Regions from separate parts of the Homo sapiens genome. Here region 1 is linked to region 2. The links are contacts of gene promoters, found by promoter capture Hi-C in human tissues and cell types (Jung and others, 2019). All regions are on one chromosome and are shown on one strand. The core of a region is centred on a gene start or on the middle of the fragment in contact, and the rest is flanking DNA. Distances in the headings are between cores, read along the strand shown. Region 1 overlaps MYHAS (myosin heavy chain gene cluster antisense RNA). Region 2 holds the start of MYH2 (myosin heavy chain 2).

What was found. Contacts are between HindIII fragments. The study calls those that stand out against the background at their distance.
Region 1: a contact is called between a fragment that was not itself captured here and the fragment with the promoter of MYH2 in region 2, in 1 of the 25 tissues and cell types used here (spleen).

The regions. Positions count from the first base shown.
Region 1 is chr17:10,588,357-10,593,471 of GRCh38, reverse strand. It overlaps MYHAS (myosin heavy chain gene cluster antisense RNA), which reads right to left. Exons shown (of 11, transcript NR_125367.1): 4 at 5,049-5,083; 5 at 2,697-2,829. Among named protein-coding and RNA genes, the nearest start is that of MYH2, 41 kb to the right of the region's middle. The HindIII fragment of the contact is 7,023 bases long and covers 63-5,115 here.
Region 2 is chr17:10,547,161-10,552,509 of GRCh38, reverse strand. MYH2 (myosin heavy chain 2) reads left to right here and starts at 2,852. Exons shown (of 40, transcript NM_017534.6): 1 at 2,852-2,874; 2 at 3,093-3,135; 3 at 4,570-4,793; 4 at 4,892-5,035. The coding sequence starts at 4,590. The region is part of intron 2 of MYHAS (myosin heavy chain gene cluster antisense RNA); the gene reads right to left. The HindIII fragment of the contact is 30,725 bases long and covers 1-5,349 here.

The DNA of each region.
Region 1 (5,115 bases), core at 2,325-4,824, 40 kb before region 2:
ACAGGTCCACCTCCTACAACTTGTCAATAGTATCAAAGTTGAGAAGCCCTGGAAGAGGCAGAGTAAACAAAGTAGTTTTGATCTTCCTCTTCCAGGGCTTCTTGTTCAACATGCGTTTAAAATATATTGAAATATATTTCAATTGTTACTTCTAGTCAATTTGCTGAGAGGTTATTATTCATGTAACTCAGGACTTATAGTTCAGGGTTTGACATATGAATGGCAATCAAAACACACGTACACAGGAATTAACTTTCCGGATTCACACTTTCTGTTGCACTTTCTGCATTTCACTTTGCACTGCTGACTCAATAGATTTCCTTATTTTATCACCATGTCCTCAAAACTGTCACTAACAATGATGCTGAAAGAAGTTGACATGAGTTCATTTAGCGCAATCTGAAACTTCACATGCATGCTACTGATCCCACCTCTAGACCAGCAGAAGTAAGAGATAAGACTGTGGTTTTTTTTTCCCACACTGGTATTTACCTTAGGACAGCATCAAATGTCTAAGTGATAAAGATACCACAACTGATTACTCACTTAAAAGGATGCATTAATAGTGCGTACATAAGAAACAATATGTTAGGAGATAAAACCATTCTAGAAAACACTATTCTTATTTTCTTATGAGAAATTCCCAGAGTTTTAAAAATAATTTTCTCTGCCTTAAATGTGAATTAAGTGAAAATTTAACTATGAATCTTGGACATCGGACTAGGAAGCATGCTATATTGTGATATGAATCACCTGGGGATCTTGTTAAATGCAGATTTTGATTTAGTAGCCTGTGGCATGGCCCAAAATTCTGCATTTCTAATAAACTCCCAGCTGGTGCTGATGCTGCTGGCCCATGGACCTCTGAGTACCACCCGATCGTAGAGGATTCTAAGTAGCACTTTGTCAGAATTTGTCACTGTTTTATAGTCACAGAGTTATAGTCTCTGGTATTTATAAATCCCTTCCATTCCCTCATTTTTTTCTTTATGTGATGAGATAGAAATCTTGAGCCTTTGCTCCTTTGAGGATCTAGAAAAAAGAAACATTTATATGAGCTGAAAACGAATAGAGGATGTTTATAGATAATAATCATTAGCTACTTTTTATTTTTATTTGTTTTGAGACAGAGTCTCACTCTGTCACCCAGGCTGGAGTGCAGTGTTACGATCTCAGCTCACTGTAACCTCCATCTCCCAGGTTCAAGCAATTCTCCTGCCTCACCCTCCTGGGTAGCTGGGATTACAGGTGCCCACCACCACTCCCGGCCAATTTTTGTATTTTTAACTAGAGACAAGGTTTTACCATGTTGGCCAGGCTGGTCTCAAACCCCTGACCTCAGGTGAGCTGCTCACCTCAGCCTCCCAAAGTGCGGGATTACAGGCGTGAGCCACTGCACCCAGCCCATTAGGTACCTATTTTGACTTGAAAAATATTCCTTGTTCAAAATAAATGTCAAAAATTTGATGTAGTGAAAAACTCACTGGAGCAGGAATTAGTAGAAACAGGTACCATTCTATGTCTCTGGGTCACCTTGGAGAGTTGGGTAGCCTCTGTAGGTCCCAGTGTGAAGCGTATGAGGTCCTTCTACATTCTGAAAGACCTCAGCTGTAAGGGGAGAAAAACTTGGAAAGGATAGCAGGAAGGGGCACACAGGACTCTTTGAGGGCAAATACCTTTGCTGGGTGTTTCTTAAACTAGCTGGAGGATACCACGTGTTTATGTTATTATGATTTAAACAACACATATATTCTATATATGTTCTTTGGCATGTATGAATAGTTCATAATACCAACACTTATTTCAAAAGTCAATTGGTGGGCTGGGCACGGTGGCTCACGCCTGTAATCTCAGCACTTTGGGAGGCCAAGGCAGGTGGATCACCTGAGGTCAGGCATTCGAGGCCAGCCTGGCCAACATGGCAAAACCCCATCTCTACTGAAAATACAAAAATTAGCCGGGCGTGGTGGCAGGCACCTGTAATCCCAGCTACTTGGGAGGCTGAGGCAGGAGAATCGCTTGAACTTGGGAGGTGGACGTTGCAGTGAGCTGAGATTGTGCCACTGCACTCCAGCCTGGGGCAGCAAGAGCGAAACTCCATCTCAATAAATAAATAAATAAATAAATGTCAATTGGTGATTCTGTTTTTAGGTTAATGTCTTATTTAATCTGTAAATAGGTCCAGTTGAAATTTCCTATAGAATGTTGATATTTGCCAAACATGTACCTCAGGACATAAGCCTCCGAAGGGGCACTGAAATATCTGTATAAATATATATGTGAGGCCAGGTGCAGTGGCTCATGCCTGTAATCCCAGCACTTTGGGAGGCCGAGGCAGGCAGATCACGAGGTCAGGAGGCTGAGACCATCCTGGCTAACACGGTGAAACCCCGCCTCTACTAAAAATACAAAAATTAGCCGAGCGTGGTGGCGGGCACCTGCAGTCCCAGCTACTCGGGAGGCTGAGGCAGGAGAATGGTGTGAACCCGGGAGGCGGAGCTTGCAGTGAGCCTAGATCCTGCCACTGCACTCCAGCCTGGAAAATAGAGTGAGACTCCATTTCAAAAAAAACAAAAAAACAAAAATATATATATATATGAAAGATATTAGACATTGCAATGTAGCTAATTATCTGCCTATAAATGTAGAATGCAAATCACAATTGAGAGAGATTTGGAATGGAGAACTTCATAGACCTGCAAGGCAGTCCAGCCCTGCCTTAGGGGTCGTGGCTTCAGTGGGGTCCCAATGTAGGCAGAGATTGCATAAATGAGTCCGATGCACAGAATTTTGGGGAGCTTTTCTTACAAAACGACATCTGTTGGCACCCTGGAAACAAGAAATGGGTGTTTCAAGTACACATTTAAGGAGTAAACTTTGACACAGTTTTATACAGGTTATGACCAAGTTCTTATTTCATGTTCCATTCTCAATTACATCCTTTCCCATCACCATAACCACCAGCAAAACAAATAGTAGGGATATTGGAAAAGAAAAGGGCAGTGAGTTTGTAAAACAACCTATGCTCCCTGGTTTGGAAGTGCCTGGTTTTGGATTCTTTTGTTGTTTTTGTTTGAGACAGGGTCTCACTCTGTCACCCAGGCTGGAGTGCAGTGGTGCAACCACAGCTCACTGCAGCCTCAACCTCCTGGGCTCAAGCGATCCTCTCGCCTCAGCCTCCCAAGTAGCTGGGATCACAGGTGCGTGCCACCACACCTGGCTAATTTTTTTGTATTTTTCATAGAGACAGAGTTTCACCACGTTGCTCAAGCTTGAACCCAAACTTCTGGGTTCAAGCAATTCTCCTGCCTCGGCCTCTCAGAGTGCTGCAATTACAGGGGTGAGTCACTGCACCCAGCCCCTCATCTTATATGATGATTCTTCTTCTTGAATTCTTAGCATCTTGTTACATTTGGCTCCTGCCTTTGGGCAAAGAAAAATTCTCTAGATGAACCTGATGGCCCTAGATCTCCCTTCTCCAGTACACAGCATTCAGCAAATAGCATAATTCAACTAATGTGAAGAATTTCAACTCTCGCTCCCCAGTGACAATGGGAGCCTACTATCAGAGAGAGCCCTGAGTGTCGGCATGATGAAAGCACTATCTAAGGGACTAGCAAGAAGAGAACTAGAGAGAACACTGACAAAGTCGAGCTTGGAATGTTAGCAGAACTCCGACCTCCGTCCCTTAAACTGGGAATCCAGAATAGTTCATTGCAATTCCGCTGGAGAATTCCCCATTGATGCTTCTTGCGACAGCAGGTTTTGCTCAGTGAGTAGCTAGAAAAGGCCCACTTTGTACATCATTATGTCAATCATGCTCAGGGTACTCATGCTCAAATAGATATTACGGAAAACTTCTTAGTTCCTAAACAGGTGCTGAATGTCTTAGTACAGCTGCTTATAGTTAAAACTAAGGGTGGTAGTGGCAGAAGAAGAGGATAAATGTTGATAACATGATAATTTTAAGAAGCTGAATAGAGGCCGGGCACCGTGGCTCATGTCTGTGATCCCAGCACTTTGGGAGGCTGAGGCGGGTGGATCACAAGGTCAGGAGATGGTGGCCATCCTGGCTAACACAGTGAAACCCCGTCTCTACTAAAGATACACAAAATTAGCCGGGCATGGTGGTGGCGCCTGTAGTCCCAGCTACTCGGGAGGCTGAGGCAGGAGAATGGCTTGAACCCGGGAGGTGGAGGTTGCAGTGAGCCGAGATCGCACCACTGCACTCCAGCCTGGCGACAGCGCAAGATTCCATCTCAAAATAAATAAATAAATAAATAAATAAGTTGGATAGAAATGAAAAGAATTAGTTTTATATAATTATAAAGGAATCACAAACCACTGGAAAGTGATTTATCCTCTCCTACCAGGTTTAGATGAAAAAGATCCACTTTTCCCTTTGAGTTTCACGTCATAAAAGAATTGACCAATCCAATCGATTTGAAAACTTATGTCCACACAAAAACCTGCACGTGAATGTTGATAACAGCTTTAGGAAATCACTAAAAACTGAAAGCGGTCAAGATATCCCTTAGTAATTAAATGGATAAACAAAGTGTGGTACATGCATACAATGGAGCATTATTGAGTGATAAAAATAAATGAGCTATTGTGTCATGGAAAAAGCATGGAGGAACATTAAATGCATATTGCAAGCGAAAGAAACCAGTCTAAAAAGGATACATACCATATAATTTGAATTATATGACATTCTATAAGAGCCAAAAGTATAGAAAGATTAAAAAAATCAGTGGCTGCCAGAGGCTCAGGAAGAAGGAGTAGAATGTATAGGTGAATGAGGGGATTTTCAGACCAGTGAAACTGTTTGTCTGATACTGTAATGGTAAATAAATGAAATTATGTATTTGTCACAACCCACAGAACTTATAGCACAAAGAATGAACCTTAATATATGCAGACTTTAAGAATGATTTAGGAGGTCAAGGGATCCCAGTAAGGAATGCAGACTATGATAAGAGAATGTAACTATATGACAAATTTATGAAACAATCTTACTGAAGGAGATGGGGAGAAAAGGTGCTGACCTCAGTAGCTCTGGACATAAATGGCATCTGTAAACCTAAAAGAAAAAGGAACTGCATATGAGCACTG
Region 2 (5,349 bases), core at 1,603-4,102:
CCGCCGTCACGTTGTTCTGAAGGTGACTTGAGCCATCTATTAGTGCTCTCCCGATTTCTCAGATTGTAACCTTCCTGAAGACCAGATCAGTGGCTGCTACTCTCTCTGAATCTCCTTGCATGGCATAGACAATGCAAGGAGATTCAGAGAGAGTATCAGCACTCTTAAATTAGCTCATTCCCAAGCTGTCACCACACCAAAATGTGACAGATAGTCCCAGGTGTGAGCAATGCAAAGTAGAAAGCCTCTGACTTATTGCAGCAGTGGTAAAAATACAATGAAATCAAGAAAAGGACACAAAGTGAATGTATGTCTTTGACCTGTTTACATAGTGGAAAAGATGATCCCGAATGACATATTCCTTAAGCTCTTGTTCTCAGAGAACATTTAACAGTCACAGATCCTGAGCCAAGTGGCACGGGAACAATTAAGGTGTGTCTCTTAATTACTGGGAACAAGGCTTTGCATTTTCTTCTTTATAGTCAAAAACAATGTATTAGACAGCGGCTACCTATAGAACACAGTATTCACTGAAGGAGTTTACCAAATGAGGAAACAGAATATAGAACCATGGATTGACTTAAAATTGAAGATCAGGCTGGGCGCGGTAGCTCACACCAGTAATCCCAGAACTTTGGGAGGCCGAGGCGGGTGTATCACAAGGTCAGGAGATTGAGACCATCCTGGCTAACATGGTGAAACCCCATCTCTACTAAAAATACAAAAAAATTAGCTGGGCGTGGTGGCATGTGCCTGTAGTCCCACCTACTTGGGAGGCTGAGGCAGGAGAATTGCTTGAACCCGGGAGGCGGAGGTTGCAGTGAGCCGGGATCATGCCACTGCATTCCAGCCTGGGTGACAGAGTGAGACTCCATCTCAAAAAAAAAAAAAAAAGTGAAGATCATTTTGTAAATAACATAAAATAAGAACTATTTAATAAAACATAAGGAAAATGCCCATTGGCAGCAGAGATGGAACAAGAGAATATTAAACTATTGCTGTGGGCACTAAAAATGGCTGTTTAGTTTGGAAAAACAGCTCAACAGCTCACCTTAAAACAGAGCTTCCCAACCAGTGTATCTTGGCATCAAAAAGGTAACTGATGTGCCATAAAATGTTGATCTCTTCAGTCTCAGAATGGCTGGATGGGGAGGGGGACCTTGGGAGGTGGCTCCTAGCTGGGAGAAGGCTGACTAAGGGTTCCTCAGAGTGTTGACTGGGCTGCATTCGAGTCTGACAGCATAACCTATGATTCCTACAGGAGGCAAGCACAATGGTGGTATTTGCCATGTGCTGGATGGAACCAAGAAGGACTTCAGCAGCCAGCTGAGAATGTAATGCTGTCTTCTGCAGTCAAGAGACCCCTGGAATTGCTGGGAGGGTTGGTGTTCCAGGATGCCTGGGACAAGGCATGCAGCCCAGAGAGCATCCAGCCAGAGTAAAGGTGCCAGAAGGCTAAGTAGGTTGTACTGGAAGAGGTAGCCCACAGTAATAGCTCCAAACCTTAGACTTTGAATAGATCAGGTACTTGTGTGTATTTGTGACTGGTGTGCCCTTTGACCAATGCTGATGACTCCTTTAACCCATGAAGTTTTTGAAGATTAGAGCTTCATTATCCTTTGAAATATTTGATATGAAAGAGAGAGTTTAAATGGATTAAAAACTTATTTTCACTGTACGAGAATATTCAACATTATATTTTTCAATGAAGGAGAAAGAAGAACTGGTGAATTTTTAAAATACTCCAACAGTTGTAAATTACTTGGTTTTCCATTTTCATCCCTCCTTCTTGGACAAAAATCCCCGCTATGGTAATTATCAAGAACACAGATACTGTTTGTATCATTTTTGAAAATTTGATCTGGAAATTTGTGTCATATTTCAAGAATAAAGTCAGAAACAAACAAGTTTTATTTGTAGGATATAGCTCAAATTTTTCCTTAGGATTTTCAAGAAGATATTATTTGTAAGTTTCCGACATATTCAGTATTTAATATTTTCCTTAATGCTATGTGTATCATAGTTATTATATTTATATTACATAAAGGAATGTAAAAAAATTAAAAATATTCTCCCCAAGCCCTTTACAGATATAGACAAATCCCTTCCACATTACTCTAGCATGCTACACTAATATTGTCATTTTTTTCTCAGCGGGCTATGACACGAAAAAATGTTGAAAAGTACTCTCTAAAAACACCTCTGCTACTAGAAAATATTCAACCTTTTTTATTTCAGGCAAGTCAAATGGGTAGGGGGACAGGAAATGGTGTGCTAAGTAGAGGGAACAACTTTGGCAAAAGCAAAAAGGTGAGCGAGCAAGGAAATTCCTGAAACTACAGGAATATTGGAATAACAGAGAGGACCTTCTGTCTCTTTAAGTTGTTGAAGGCACATCGCTTAATTTTGCAGGGCTGGAAAGAAAGGACCAACAGGTAAAAATTAACTGTCACAAAATTAAAATACATATTTGTATTTTATTTATGTGACTTAACACGTGAAATATGCGAAAGTGATGCGAGGCAAGCCCGAATGCTGTGCCCAGCAAAGCCAAAAAGAAGTTCCGAGGGAAGCCAGGTATCCTGGCTGCCCAGCCACTGCCTTTATCCACCAGCTTGACTCTTTCAGATCATCTTCTCAAATTATCCATAGGAGATTTATCCACATACTCAATAAGAAAAATATTTCTAATTATATCCAACCATTCTTAATATGAATGAGAATTATGCGGGGACGCTAGATTGCCAAGAGGTATTTTGCCAAACAATTCCTTTTGACTTAAGAAAGAAGAGGCAGCTGCATTGTTTCCATAGCTATCCATATAAAAGAGCCCTTGGAATGAGGCTGACTCGTCCTGCTTTAAAAAGCTCCAAGGTAAGTGGGAGCAGGACGGGCCTTTCAAGAGGGACACTGGTCACACCGCCCAGTGTCAGCAGCAGCTGCTAGTTCTGGTACTGCTCCTTCTGGAACTGCACGTTTTACCTCTATGAATTTTGTTACTTCTGTTTACAATAGCAAGCCATGCCATAAATGGGATTTTTTCCCCCTCTTTTTGGTCAACTAATCAAGTGCTTTTCCCTTTTCTTTTATAGAACTGTCTCACTCCCAGGCTACATCTTCTCACTTGCTAACAAGGTAAGATTTGGACTAACCAGTTCCTGGAGGAGAATGCAAGAGGCTCTGGGATGGATTTCTGTCACTTAGCAACCTTTCAGAAAGTGCTTGTCTCAGTAAATACCCTTTAACAACTGTGCTTCAGGAAAGCGGTGAGAAAGGGAGGACTGTCCTTTCAGGACAATGCACACATCCTCATTTACGGCTCAAGCATTGGTGGGGTGACATTTGAGCAGGGGAATCGCTTTGAATAAATATATTGTCTGTGCAGGAAAAAAAGAGTCTACCCTCAGATTCCCTGGCTAAAAATCTCAAATTTGATAAAAATGTATCCTGCTGTTAGAATTCATTTAGTAAACATAATGTCCAACAATGTAAAATGGAAGTAAGACAATCCTTTCTTTAAACTTCTTAAAGCCCTTGTAAAAAGTCACCTTACACAATGCCGAGTGCTGTGGCATTTTTCTTATATATAATAGAGGTATTAATCTGCCCTCCCACTACTTACTGCATTTCTAAAGGGAGAGACTAGAAGAGACGATTCAAATGAGTTTCAAGTAATTTGATCATGTAATGACTGCGGTAGAATTATTTGCCAAACCTTTCATTCTACTGATACCACTGGCAACCTACAGATCACATAGAACGGAGCAAACAGGGCCTGCATGCTTCAAAGGAAAATTTGGAATAGTAAAGGGAGCCCTTAGATGTAGAAGAATGAGGTTAACGTTGGCTACTGTTTTTATCCCTAATTAGTTTAAGGGGGTTAAACTGATGAACTGTATTTAATATGCAAAAAATTATGTCAGAGAAACTATACTAAGCACCTAACCTAAAAGAAAAAAAGGTAAACAAAATTATAATCTCCAATAAGCCACTGAACTTCAACAAATCTGGCTGAACAGGTAAAGGAGGAAATAAAGTTCTTCTACATTACATTCAAGACATGGAATTTTGTGACATGATAATTCATGACATCTCATATATAAATGGTGGCCTGAACAATTTCAAATTACTTTCTCAGTCATCATTTAAACCTCTTTTTCAAAGTATCTTCACATATATCATGGGCTGTGAATTTAGAAAGGCAGAATTTATAATCCCTATTCTAAAGATGGAGTCACTTAGGCTCAAAAACATCAAGTGACATACCCAAGGTCACAAGCTACTTGACAGCAGCACTGGACTGTAATTCAGTTCCCAATGAGAATGTGAGTCCTGGAGGATGAAATAAGACAGTGGATGCAAAGCCCTAAATACGGCATTGGGTACACAGAGACCACCTGATGCATTTTCGTTCTTGTGATTATGTTTGTCTCAGTAACTATAGTATGGTGAACAGTAGACCTGTCTAGTGGAATTTCCAACTGGGCCTATGAAATACAATAAATATTAAGATTTATTGGTATACATGGCAATCCAGACTCTCTAATGTGAAAGTTTTATCTCCTTTAGGACCTCTGAGTTCAGCAGCCATGAGTTCAGACTCAGAATTGGCTGTTTTTGGGGAGGCTGCTCCTTTCCTCCGAAAGTCTGAAAGGGAGCGCATTGAGGCCCAGAATAGGCCCTTTGATGCCAAAACATCTGTCTTTGTGGCGGAGCCCAAAGAATCCTTTGTCAAAGGGACCATCCAGAGCAGAGAAGGAGGAAAAGTGACGGTGAAGACTGAGGGAGGAGCGGTGAGTAGAATCCCAGGAGCTTGCCACATTTTATTGATTTTTGTTGTTGTTGTTTGGTCACTCAATTAATGTAAACGGTTATCTTTCCTGTTTACCAGACTCTGACAGTGAAGGATGATCAGGTCTTCCCCATGAACCCTCCCAAATATGACAAGATCGAGGATATGGCCATGATGACTCATCTGCATGAGCCTGCTGTGCTGTACAACCTCAAAGAACGTTATGCAGCCTGGATGATCTACGTGAGTGTCCCCTGCCAGTGCTCTGTATAATCATCCTCATGTACCCTACCATCCTGCTTCTTCCACTGAGCATAAATAGGTCACAGGTAGTGACCCATTTCACTTTCATTGCAGCATAACTAGTTAAAAGGCTTCATGATTGCTATCGTAAAGCACAGCTCAACAGCCAGCACTTCCTTGTTTTCCCATCCAAAGCTGGGGAAGGCCGCTGTCCATGTTGACTAGGTTTGCCCAGAAACCCTTCAATAGGCATTTGAGCAGTTACTACTTATATTTCAATCACAGGTAATTTTCCCCATTCCTTTTCCCCACTC